2 separate regions of the Homo sapiens genome follow, and region 1 is linked to region 2. Evidence: promoter capture Hi-C in human tissues and cell types (Jung and others, 2019). All regions are on one chromosome and are shown on one strand. Each heading gives the region's core, a stretch centred on a gene start or on the middle of the fragment in contact. The rest is flanking DNA. Distances are from core to core; before and after follow the strand shown. Region 1 overlaps FLJ12825 (a long non-coding RNA gene). Region 2 holds the start of HOXC5 (homeobox C5).

Region 1 (6,568 bases), core at 2,554-5,053, 74 kb after region 2:
CCTGGCCTGGCATACTGGGTCTTTCACAAGCTTGTGTCAACCTCCTCTACAGACTCATCTCTACACTGAGGGACTTGCAGTTTCCAAGTGCTCTGGCCTTGGGGCCTTTGCCCATGCTGTTCTCTTCTGAATGCCCTTTCCTGCTTTGCTACTTTGTTCTTGCCCTTCTGGATTCAGCTCCTGGGAGGCCCTGTGGATAGAAGTCAGATGGCTCAAGTAGGCAGCTGGTTAGGACCCAGGAGACAGAAACGTGTCTGGGGAGGACAACACTTTCTTGTCCTGGTTTCTATTCAGCTGCAACTAGAGAAACAGATCACCTGTTTCTTGTTCAAAACTAGGATCAGTGAGAGGAGGGTGGAAAGAGTAAGATCCTCCACAGTACCCTCCCACCTCCCAGCCTCCCCCCACATAGACTAGCCCCAAGGCAGAAACTTCCCAGCAGAAAAAGGAAAACTGATAACCTCATTCCTTGGTCTGGCTCTGTTAGGATTATCATCTGGTTTCCCCTGCTGGTGTTGGAAGAGCTGTGTTGGTGCAGGCCAGTGCTATCCTGTGACTAGAGGGAAGAAGCTCTGCCTGGGCCTGATTTGGCCACAAGCTCCTAGTAAGATGCTGAAAAGGAACACAAACTCTAGGCCCAGGACGCCCTCCCCATGCCATCCCACACCTGACTTCTGCGCACCTTGTGAGCAGATCAGATTTGGTGTTGCTTCTTCCACATCATCCTCGCATCCCCTTTCACAGACTCGGATATATCCCCTCATGGGAACCTATGGATCTACAGCATATCTATGGATATGCCACCCCATGGCAACTGTCCTTTCCCCTTCATAGCATACATCACCCTGAATTATAGCTGCCTGTTTATGTATGTGTCTTCTGCACCAGGTGGTACTCCCTGATGGGGCAGGGATTGGGTCTGTCTTGTTCACAGTTGCATCTCCAGCACCTGCAACTCTGCCTGGCTCAGAGTAAGTGCTCAGTACTTTTTGTTTTTGATTGAATGATAGAATGACGAGTGAACTCTATTTCCCACTAGACTGTGAGCACCATGTTGACAGGGACCATGCCCTGATCATCTCTGGATCCTTAGGGCCTATATAGTGCTTGCCACATAGGAGGTGCTCAGTAGACACTTATCGATTTGAGTGAATGGACTTCAGTTTCTCCACTTACAATCTGAGTAAGAGGAAGATATTCTTTGTCCTCTCTCCCTCCTTCTCCAACCACATTGGGGGTTGTGGTTGATGCTGTGAGGTCATTCCTGCCTTATTCAACTTCATGTCCAAATCTTCTAATGGCAAAACACAACATGGTGGCCAAGTCTCAGAGTCCAGGCATCCCTCCCATAGCCCATAGCCAAGTATGGGAGAAGGGTGCTTCAGGGTCTCTCTCCATTCACTTTAGTCTCCAGCATTAGCCAAGATCCCACTGTCTACCCTGAATTCTTCCTGCTATTGCACAAGGCTTCTTTCATCTTACTGTATTGTCAGGGAAAATATAGCCAAGATTATCTGCTCCTCAACCTGAAGTAACATATAGATTCTGCCTAATTTTAGAACCGGTGTTAGCCAGGTGTGGTGGCTCACACCTATAATCCCAGCATTTTAGGAGGCCAAGGCTGCAGGGGAATCGCCTGAGTCCAGGAGTTCAAGACCAGCTGGAGCAATATGGCAAAACCCCATCTCTACAAAAAAAGCAAAAAAATTAGCTGGGTGTGGTGGCACATGCCTGTAGTCCCAGCTACTCAGGAGGCTGAGGCAGAGGATCATTTGAACCCAGGAAGTGGAGGTTGCAGTGAGCCAAGATCGTGCCGCTGCACTCCAACCTGGGTGACAGAGTAAGATCCTGTCTCAAAATAAAAATAAAGAATAAAACCAGTGTTTCCACATCTGGAACTTTCTTTTCAAGTTTATATCACCTCTCCTTCCAAATCAGGTCTCCCCTCCTCCAGGAAGTACTCCTTGATTAAGCCAAAAATGTTTTAATTTTCACCACTTGTCCTACTACTCTGCATCCCCACAGCACTTGTAGTTTGTACTTATTCCCTATCCTGTTTAAGTGTGTGTTCATCATCCTAACCATACTGCATAAGCAGGCACTATTTTAAGTAGGCTTGACAGATTATCAGAAATTGACAAGAAAAAATACACACGAAGAAGAAAGTAGAAGAGGATTTTTTCTTTTCTTTTCTTTTTGCTTTATCATAGAATTTCTTGTCTTGGTGCTTACAAGCTGTGTAGCACAATGAGAGGAGAATGTGATTTCTGCAAAACACTTCAGGAAGCACAAAGTATCTGTAAATACCCAGGAATAATGACCATGTCTTTTATTTGTATTATTTTTCTAATTCCTCCACTCTATAGGGCTTGCCCAAAGTCCTTGATTTTAGCCCTTGAGTGTTGGTTGGCTGACTTAGCTTTGGATTGTGGTCCCCTGAGATCGCTGGATCTTTTTAAGCTTTAGAGTTATGCCCTACCATGTGGATGCAAGTGGAGGAAGGACTTCTCAGTGTGACCCATGAGAGGAGTGGCTCTCCTGGGCCCCAGGCCCCAGGCTGCATGCGTATGGGAGGGAGGAGGAGAAGCAAGGAAAGGAGGAGAGACAGAAGTATATACTGAGCTGGTAGTTGGGGGAAGGGTTGGCGGGTGGGGAGAAGGGAAGAGAGGAGTCTGGGCCAAGGCCAGAGGTGTCTCCCTGGGGAGTCCTCGGAGCGGGCAGCCGGACGTCGCTCCATCCTTCCCGCCTGACGGATGCGTCTGCTGCGCAGGCACAAGCTGTCGGGCCAGGCCCTGCCAAGGCAGAACAGTGGCGCTTCTGTGCGCGCTGCTCCGCTCCGCTCCGGAGGATGGGGCCCGCCCGGGAAGCCAGGGAGTGATGGAGAAAGCAGACGTCCCAGAACAGGAGCCGTGGGGTCACAGAAGCACGCCTGCCTCCCGAAACAAGGGGCCACAGGACGAGGTGGGAGGGGACCGGGAATCAACGCGGGGGAGCGTTTGGGGGAATTGTTGGTCGAAAGAAGAGAGGCAGAAGGACGCGCGCTGAAGGAGCCTGGGGATGAAGAGCTCGATGATTTGGCCACAAGCCCCCTCACCTTTAAGAACAAAGCTTTCTGCATTCAGTTGCAGAGTTTTGTTTCCCGGTCAGATGCTCAGAGACCTTCCACCCTGTCCCCCACCCCTCAGCCTTGCCCATCTCCACGAGCATCTTCCGCGCCCTCGCCCGGGACTCGGAGCCCACCACCCTCCGCCTCCGCCTGGCCTGGCCCGCGAGATCCCTGCCGCTCCAGTTCGGAATCTGGGATCCGCAGGCTCCCAGATCCGCCCCTGGCCCGGCTCCGACCCGCCCGTCAGCCGCCTCCCACTCAGCGTTAATTAAAACTTGCGAGATGGAGAGGCTGGCGCGGACGGCTCCGTTTTATTTGCAGCATCTTTCATGCTGCTGACGATCGTAAAGGGCTTTAATATTGAAATATGGGCCATTTTCCCAGCTCCAGCCCTCGCCGCGCTCTCTCCGCACCCCCACACCCAGCCACCCCGCGCTTGATGAAAGAGCCCCTGCAAATCCATTAAGGAGAGATAATTGAAAACTCCGGGGTAATATTTAAGACCGCGTGCCGACGCGGGGTGGAGGGCCTAACTGCGCCCGCTTTGTCCGTCAGTGCTGGTGCGTGCCAGTCCCTAGCGCTCTAGGCCCACCAAGGCCCCGCCGACGCCCAGCCAAGGCCCGCCGTCTTAGCGGTGCCTCCTCACTCCCTGCACTCAAAGGGCTGGCTCTGCGCTAACCTGGCTGTGCCTGGAGACCCGACTTGCCTGGAGACCCGAGTTCCAAAAGGAGCCACAGGGCACGCTGTGTGACAGATGGATTAGGGCCAGCATGAACGGGGGCCAAAGCATCTTGTCCCACTGCTTCAGCTTCGGTTTGGTGCACCAGCATCAGGCACTGCTCAAGCTTCTGAGCACGGCATCCCCTCTGCCTGCAAGCTTTTCCCTCCAGCACTTTCTACTTGCGGAACTGCTGTTCCTCTTTCAAAACCAACCCAGTTCCACCCCAAGTAAGTGCAGTGGGGTATGGAACGTGGGTGGGAGTATAGACACACCAAGATCCTGGTGTGACCATTGTTGCAGCTGCATGATGAGGACACTATACTGCTCTGTTTTCGTATGTTTTCAATGTTCCACAACAAACATGTTTAGAAAGCAGCTGAGGCATCTTCTTTTACGCCTCCCTCTCCCATAAATACAGACTACCTGTTATCTTGTACATTGATGTTCCTTAGCACATCGTGTTGCCATTATCTGTTTAAAGTCTTTCTGCCTACTCAGCTGTGACATCTTCAGAACAGGGATCAGGTCTAATTTCACTCCTTAGCCCTTGCTCCAGGCCCAGTGCAAGGCACATAACATGCGCTCAGTAAACATCACTGAATAGGCTGTTCTCTGGGTACCTAGAAGTCTCTAGGGCTTAAGGTTAGGATACAAGCACACGGAAGGAGGGTAGGGCAAAGCATGGAAGAGGGGTGGGGTCTGTGAGGCTGGGTTGGGGGTCATGTCTGTCTCCCACAATGACTGGCTTCAGGATGTTCCCAGAATGGGAAAAGGGTGGAGGACCATGTTCTGCACTGTGATTTAGGAATCCTTAGGTCTCTACCTGGGACTTTTGGGGATGTTTCTCCACTTCACTCCATTTGGCTTACTCTCCCAATCAGGTTAGACACACACACACACACACACACACACACACACACACCACCACACACCTTAGACAGGGAAAGAGTGGGAAAGAGGGAAGCAGAAGAGATTATTTGAAGACCTACTTGTGCAAAAGGCATGAGTAGTTCAGGCATTTCCATGGATACCCAGCTAACCTCCTACTACAGGGCCTTTCCTACTTACCCCTGTTGCCCAGTCTTCCCCAACACTGTGTCCAACACCCATACAGGGGTTGTACTCACAGGATGGCACTATCGAGGAAGAGGGGGCTGTTCTGACTCAGCCCCCCTAACCGCACATTGGCCCTGAAGCCACAGTTGCAATGATGCCCTCTCTATGGCCAGAATGAGATCCAAACCATTCCAAAGTTCCATTTCCAAACAAGGACTCCTCGTTAGAACCACAAAACATCAGAGCTGGAGGCAACCAAAAGAGCACTGTGTCCCCTCTTAGTATCTGTGGGGCAACTAAGACTTAGAAAGGGTCTGTGATGTGCCCCAGGTCACAAAGCCATTGGTAACTGGGCGGGCGGGGTGGCTCACGCTTGAAATCCTAGCACTTTGGGAGGCCAAGATGGGTGGATCATTTGAGGTCAGGAGTTCGAGACCAGCCTGGCCAACATGGCGAAACCCTGTCTCTACTAAAAATATAAAAATTAGCGGGCAGTAGTGGAGCATGCCTGTAATCCCAGCTACTCAGGAGGCTGAGGCAGGGGAATTGCTTGAGCCTGGGAGGCAGAGGTTGCAGCGAGCTGAGATCACACCACTGCACTCCAGTCTGGGCGACAGAGTGCGACCCTGTCTCAGGAAAAAAAAAAAAAAAAAAAAAAAGCCATTGCTAACAAAACCAGTGCTAGAATCCCAGCAAGTTAGTGGTGGAGCTGGAATTAGAATCCCAATCTCTTGACCCACTTAAATATATACAATTGGTATTCGAAATGCTTTTCACAAACATTATCTCATTTAATTCTCTCTCTCTCGATAGGATCTCACTCTGTCACCCAGGCTGGAGTGCAGTGACATGATCATGGCCCACTGCAGTCTCAAGCTCCTGGGCTCAAGCAATGCTCCCACATCAGCCTCAGGCACATGCCACCACACCTGGCTAATTTTTGTATTTTTGTAGAGACAGGGTTTCGGCATGTTGCCCAGGCTGGTCTTGAACTCCTGGGCTCAAGAAATCCTCCTACCTTGGCCTCCCAGAGTGCTGAGATTACAGGCATGAGCCACCGTACCTGGCCTCATTTAATTCTCACAAACCTATGAGATAGCGTCACAATTCCCATCTACAGATGAGAAAAATGAGGCTCAGGGAGAGCCATGATTTGTCCAGTGTCATACACGGGTGGAAAACAGATCCAGGATTTGAACCCCAGTTTGACTGGCTCCAATTCCAGTGCCCTTTCCACTCACTTCTCCAGTATCTCCCCCTACACCCCACCCAGCCAAGTCAGGCCAGTTTCCCAGACACTCACCCTTCATCCCTGGACATCTCCAGCCAGAGGTCTTTTTTCTCCTTAGCCCAGCTTCCCCCACCCAGGGCAATGTTCTTTGCCCCAGATTTGGAGGTGGCGGTGTGGTAGTCCCCGCCGTGGTTCTGGGTACAGGCCTCCATGAACTGAAGCCATGCACAGCCTGGCCTCCTGTGCGCAGCCCTACTCCTGTTCGTGGCCACGGAGGCCTCAGCCATAAATCCCCAGGTCTCAGCTCATAACCATTAGCAAGCGATTGGGCTCATCAGGACGCCTTTATGAGACTCAGGTCAAATAAATGGATTGCCGGAGGTCAGGAACAAGGGATCTCCTTGGCTTGCCTTGCCTTGCTTCCGAGATGCTCCCACCACGCAGAGGTTGGCAG
Region 2 (6,443 bases), core at 1,915-4,414:
GAGGGGCCACCGCCGACAGCCTGGGCGGAAAAGAGGAAAAGCGGGAAGAGACAGAAGAGGAGAAGCAGAAAGAGTGACCAGGACTGTCCCTGCCACCCCTCTCTCCCTTTCTCCCTCGCTCCCCACCAACTCTCCCCTAATCACACACTCTGTATTTATCACTGGCACAATTGATGTGTTTTGATTCCCTAAAACAAAATTAGGGAGTCAAACGTGGACCTGAAAGTCAGCTCTGGACCCCCTCCCTCACCGCACAACTCTCTTTCACCACGCGCCTCCTCCTCCTCGCTCCCTTGCTAGCTCGTTCTCGGCTTGTCTACAGGCCCTTTTCCCCGTCCAGGCCTTGGGGGCTCGGACCCTGAACTCAGACTCTACAGATTGCCCTCCAAGTGAGGACTTGGCTCCCCCACTCCTTCGACGCCCCCACCCCCGCCCCCCGTGCAGAGAGCCGGCTCCTGGGCCTGCTGGGGCCTCTGCTCCAGGGCCTCAGGGCCCGGCCTGGCAGCCGGGGAGGGCCGGAGGCCCAAGGAGGGCGCGCCTTGGCCCCACACCAACCCCCAGGGCCTCCCCGCAGTCCCTGCCTAGCCCCTCTGCCCCAGCAAATGCCCAGCCCAGGCAAATTGTATTTAAAGAATCCTGGGGGTCATTATGGCATTTTACAAACTGTGACCGTTTCTGTGTGAAGATTTTTAGCTGTATTTGTGGTCTCTGTATTTATATTTATGTTTAGCACCGTCAGTGTTCCTATCCAATTTCAAAAAAGGAAAAAAAAGAGGGAAAATTACAAAAAGAGAGAAAAAAAGTGAATGACGTTTGTTTAGCCAGTAGGAGAAAATAAATAAATAAATAAATCCCTTCGTGTTACCCTCCTGTATAAATCCAACCTCTGGGTCCGTTCTCGAATATTTAATAAAACTGATATTATTTTTAAAACTTTATACCGGGAATTCTGTTAATTCGCTCGCCCGCCGGCCTCAGGGTGAGAGCTGGAGCAGGCTCCAAGCGCTCCCGCGCCTGCCGGCCCCCTGCAAGCCCCCAGCCCTCTGCACTCGCCTTCCCCGGAGCCCAGGCGCCCGGCCCCGGCCTTCTGTTCGTTCTCGCGATCGCACTGAGGGGCTGGGAGGCCTCTCTGGGCTCCCTGCGCGGAGCAACACACACACCCTGCGGGAAAAAGCCGCGTAGGATTTTGTTGCGGGGGGAGCTGGGATCAGTCGGTTTGGGCACCAACCCCACGCAGGCCTTTCTTCCTGCCTGTGGCAGCCGGTGTCCTCGGCGTCCGAACCCTGAGGCGCCCCGAAAGACCAGTAAAGAAGCACTATCCAGGCACCAGGGTCTCCTCCACCCACTCCCGGGAGTTGGAGGCGGGGGGCGCCGTGAGAGCAAGCCCCAGGCCCGCGCCAAGCTGGCTGTTGCGAAACGTAGCGGAGGCGGAGAGCGGAGGGAAAGAGAAGACCGCGGGACTGGAGCCCTGTCGGCAGGGATTGAGCGATTCAAGGACATCTCGAGAGAGAAAGCCTGGAAACTGAGCTCTCGCCTGCTCTGGTACTCCTGACGTGGCCGGGACAAAATTCCTTCTTCATTACAGCTCCAGCCGGGCTGGTTCCTTACTTTTCTCTCCTCAAACGGGTGAAGAGGCGGGTGAGGAGCGCAGCCGGACCCTAACCATTTATCAACCCTGGCCTTCTCTCTCCAAGCCTGGCCAGAGAAACCTGAGTGGGCCTACAGGGAGAGGTGTTGAGGAGGGTCTCCGGAGGGAAAAAATCCGCCAGAGTTTTCCGGGCCCTTCAGATTCCCTCCAGCGCCCCCACCCTCGCCTCCAGTGCCTCCACCAGTGAGGAGGGGGCCTTCTCCTGGCGGGGCGGAGATTTCCTGGGAAGAAGCAGGCAGGGAAGTATGAGACTTGGGGCTACGGGGGAAGAGGATGGGGCCGAATGGCTGCAGATACCCTGCGAAGGCTACCCAGGCGCCTGCCCTGCCCACCCCCCAGGTCCGCCCCATTCCTCTTGGTAGCTCAGAAATTGCTCTCTTGTGAACCTTATGGATTCAGGTCCCTGGAAAGCCTAGCCCAGAGACCTTTTCCCCAAAGGGCACATAACGGGCCTTTTCCTCTGCCATGCTCACGTAATATTTGTGGAGGCTTCAATCTTGCTTCTCCATGTCCTCAATTAACATCTATTTTCTGTCTAAAACCTCTGGCATAGGTACCACATAAGGATCGCACACAGGGAAACAGAGCAGTCCTCTAGACCATTGTCTGGCTCTGTCCGTGTCCACACACACACTTGAAAATTGCCTTGTTGCCACTCTGGGGACCCTAGCATGGTGAGGTCTAGCCAACTCCACCTGGCTCCTCACCTCCAGATCCATCCCAAACAGCCTGCAACACCCTCAGCTTCATGACCCCCCTATCTTGTTCTGACCACTCAGGATCCCTCCTCCTGGGCGTCCTGTCTACCTCTTCAGAAGCTAATTCTACTTTCTCTTGCTGATAGGCACCTCTTCAGCAGTAGTGGAGCCTTAGGGCCTGAGAGGCAAGGGACTTCTACCTTTGGTTTAGGGAACCTAAGTTAAACCCCATTGGTTCTCCAGCCTGGGCATAGGCCACCTTACCTAACTTAATCCCCTTTCCTCAGCCATTTTTGAAGATTGGAAGACCCTGGAGGTTGGGAGAACGGGACTTTCATTACAAAAAGCACTCTGTGCGTTATAAGTGGGGCCTCGTCTTTTCCCAATTTTAAATAGAATTTAAAAGGCTAGCTCAGGGGTTGCCCCAACAACCAGCTTCTCCTTCACAGTGTAGGAAATCCAGCCACCGGAAAGCAAGCTGGCGCTCCAGGATGCAATTCCCCCACATAGGCACCAGGTGTCGCTGTGGGCTTGTTGTCCCGGCTACCCCCAATTCCAAGAACCTTTTTTTTTTTTTCCCTCCCCCTTCCCTCTTTCTCTCTCTCACTCCCTCTCCCCCTTGGTTGGGCTTTGCCAACATATCGAGATGCTTTTCGCCGGCTTCCATCACTAACCTCCCGGAGGTCATCAAGCCAAATTTATGAGTGGCCGCTCGAGTCACGTGACTCTATTTAAGGCTCCCTTATTTGGGAAGAGCGCATAGGATAAAGAAAGAGATATCTCCACCTATAAATTGTCCACTTTGGAGAACAAAAAACCCCTCAACTTCAAAGAGTCACAAATCACCCTTAATCAAAAAGGGTGCAGAAATTTTTTTGGGCCCTCCCCGCCATGAGCTCCTACGTAGCCAATTCATTCTATAAGCAGAGCCCCAATATCCCTGCCTATAACATGCAAACTTGTGGGAACTATGGATCGGCCTCAGAGGTGCAGGCATCCAGGTACTGCTACGGCGGATTGGACTTAAGCATCACTTTCCCACCGCCTGCGCCTTCCAACTCTCTCCACGGGGTAGACATGGCTGCCAACCCCCGGGCTCACCCCGACCGCCCCGCCTGCAGCGCCGCGGCCGCTCCGGGACACGCTCCGGGCAGAGACGAAGCGGCTCCTCTGAACCCCGGGATGTACAGTCAGAAGGCGGCTCGCCCGGCGCTGGAGGAGCGAGCTAAGAGCAGTGGGGAGATCAAAGAGGAGCAGGCGCAGACAGGGCAGCCCGCCGGACTGAGCCAGCCACCGGCCCCGCCACAGATTTACCCGTGGATGACCAAACTGCACATGAGCCACGGTAAACTTTAGGACTTCATTTTGCGCTCTCGGGTCCGCCTGGGTTTTATAGGCCATGCGGGGCAAATAAAGAAAAAAAACCTGCGGCCATAAATTTTACGATCCAGGCATCAATGGCTCGTAAAACTGTCCACTAAAAGGCTTAGAGGCTGTGTGCGCCCAAATTTACGACGACATAATTGGATCATAGGAACAAAACGTGTATAAAAGGCAATATTCAATTTTTGGGGGAGAGGGAGGGAGTTAAAAAAATAGAGGGATCTGAAGGGTGAGGAGCGCGGGGCTCCAGAGCGGGGATCCCCCCGCGGCTCCCTCCCTCCCTCCCCTGCGGAGCCGGCTCCGCCGGCGCTTGCGGCTCCGGAGGATTCCAGCGACTCGGGAGGGGCGGGAGGGGGGTCCCCGGTGCTCGGATCTCGAGGGTGCTTATTGTTCGGTCCGAGCCTGGGTCTCCCTCTTCCCCCCAACCCCCCCTCAGCCCCTCCGGCTGCAGAGTGAAGGCTGCGGTGGAAAGTTTCCTGCCTGGGCGGAGGCGCCTCTCCCGGGGCTGGGCTGGGCTGGCCCGCCTGCGGCCCGCGTGGCCTGTCTTGCGGCTCTCGCCTCCTCTCCCTCCGGCCGCGGGTGGGGGCCTGGGCTGGGGTGGGGACGGGGGAACGCTGCAAGCTATTCACCCCTTCCTGGCTTGGGGTGGGGTTTATGTTCCAGAGACGGACGGCAAGCGGTCCCGAACCAGTTACACGCGCTACCAGACTCTGGAACTCGAGAAAGAATTCCACTTTAACCGCTACCTCACTCGCCGCAGGCGCATAGAGATCGCCAACAACTTGTGTCTCAATGAGAGACAGATCAAGATCTGGTTCCAGAACCGCAGGATGAAGTGGAAGAAAGATTCCAAAATGAAAAGCAAAGAGGCTCTTTAGAGGCAGCGGGGGAGGCCCGCAGAGCGCGCCCCTAGCCGGTTCCTGTCCCTGCGCCTTTCCTTTTCGCCTTTCCTCTCTATATTTCGGGTCGGGGGCAGGTGCTGGAGCACTGGGCTCCCGGGCCCCACAGACAAAAGCGCTTTTCCTTGGCATTCCGCATCCCTACCGACCCAGGGTTCCCGCGGGGCTGTCGGCGCTGCCCCATCTCCCCTCAGCTCGGCTCAGCTCGGTACCCGGGGCCCAGGGCAAGCTCCGCAGGACTTCCCCGGAGGGCTGCGGCGTACAGGCTGGCGCAGAACGAACCTTGGCCTGGGCCGTATCTCCGGCTCCCAGCCTCAGCGCGGCCCTCCCGAGTTAAGGTGGGCCCGGCCCGCGCCACAGGACCCTCGCCGGACCCTCTAACCTCGCCCTCTCCTTTGTTCCCGGCTGGACGGGTTAGACAGCCAAAGGCTGGCGAGAGTCTGGCCCTAGACTCGGGGTGCTTCCTTGTAGCGACTAAACTAGATTTTCACTTATGAATGATTTGCATATGAAAGGAGAGCATCGGCCTAGGGCCCCCACAGTTGCTCTATGCTTTCCAAACCTTATCTCCACAACCTCTTCCCCCCAAAACCCGGGAACCTCCCCAGCCTGCGCCTGCTGCATGCCCTCTCAGGCCGGCAGCCCCAGCCTGCTAGCTAGCTCAACTAGTGGGGTTTCCTGGCACTGGACCCCAGCAAGTGGTCCTAGAGGCCCTTTGCTGTCCCATAGTCCCTGCCACGAATTTCTGTGCCCTCCTGACCCATTGCTGTTGTCCAACTATTTATTGACTCTGGGTCCTTCCTGAAACTATATTTTGTCATATCAAATAAAGAGAGAACAGGACTAAAGATGCAGTGGCTCCTGTCTGTTTGGGGCATGTATTGGGTAAAATTGTCTAAATGGGCTGTGAGATGTAGAAGGAGACCCACAAACTTTAAGCCACCCCTTTAAAAAATTTTCTAGCTTCTAGGGGCAGTGAGTAGAGGGAGGTGAAATTGAGCTCCTTTCCTGTTCCTTGGCTGCAACAAGAGCCTCTGGGGGAAGAGAAGGGCACCTAGGCCTCGAGTACTGGCTTTTCCCATGCTGTGGCTGTCCAAGGCCTTCACGCCTCTGCACTCCAGGAGGCCTCTGGACTGGCAGCAGCCCCCACTGTGTGCCAAAGCTGCGGTGCAGGAACCAGTGGCTCCACCGTGCTCAGCCTTAGGACCTTCTGGGCCTCTGAAGATCTTTCCTGGGCCTAGGTGGTCCCTGAGAGGCCTTGCTGGACATAGAGGGAGGGCTGAGCCCTCACTCTAGGGACCCATTTGGTCTCATAAGGGCCTCTAGAGGGAGGTGGTATTGCTTGGTAAGGGGGTGTTGGGAGAGTTGGAGGAGGTGTGCCTCAGTATCTAAGATACTGGGGAAGAGGGAGCAGGGAGGACAATCTGCAGTGTGTATCAGCCTGGCAGGAAATGTTCAGACTGTTTCCACCACCTTCTAGGGCCTCGGGCTATGCAGGACAATTAACTGGGAAAGGAGCTGCATAGACCAGTGCTGGAGTCACGTCTGTCTGCCATCATTTATCTCAGTCTCTGGGATTTTGTGTGGAGGGGAGGATGGGTTAAAAGTGGGGGTGGGAGGAGGCAGATAATTCAGGTAGTGTCTGAGGATCAGGTCCTTCTCCAGGCTCCTGGGATGGGCTGGGGGAGGAAGCACTTTACAGTAGAAACAAATGTGGGAAGGGTCCATAAAACTTTACTGCATTTCCTCTCCCACCTCCCACAACAGGGTGATTTCCTGGAGCCAAGCCTAGGCCCCCCACACTGGTGGGGTGAG

Evidence for each region. Contacts are between HindIII fragments. The study calls those that stand out against the background at their distance.
Region 1: a fragment that was not itself captured here is called in contact with the fragment with the promoter of HOXC5 in region 2 in 4 of the 25 tissues and cell types used here (H1 embryonic stem cells, heart right ventricle, neural progenitor cells and 1 more).

What each region holds. Positions count from the first base shown.
Region 1 is chr12:54,103,635-54,110,202 of GRCh38, forward strand. All of the region lies in intron 1 of FLJ12825 (a long non-coding RNA gene), which reads left to right. Among named protein-coding and RNA genes, the nearest start is that of LINC02381, 19 kb to the right of the region's middle. The HindIII fragment of the contact is 5,117 bases long and covers 1,246-6,362 here.
Region 2 is chr12:54,029,886-54,036,328 of GRCh38, forward strand. HOXC5 (homeobox C5) reads left to right here and starts at 3,165. Exons shown (of 2, transcript NM_018953.4): 1 at 3,165-3,691; 2 at 4,393-5,476. The coding sequence starts at 3,238. The coding sequence ends at 4,607. It overlaps MIR615 (microRNA 615), which reads left to right and starts at 4,065; the gene lies at 4,065-4,160. It overlaps HOXC6 (homeobox C6), which reads left to right. Exons shown (of 2, transcript NM_004503.4): 2 at 1-938. The coding sequence ends at 77. It also overlaps a transcript of HOXC4 not described here. RefSeq lists enhancers at 2,680-2,974, 2,969-4,120 and a silencer at 4,204-4,263. The HindIII fragment of the contact is 19,535 bases long and covers 1-6,443 here.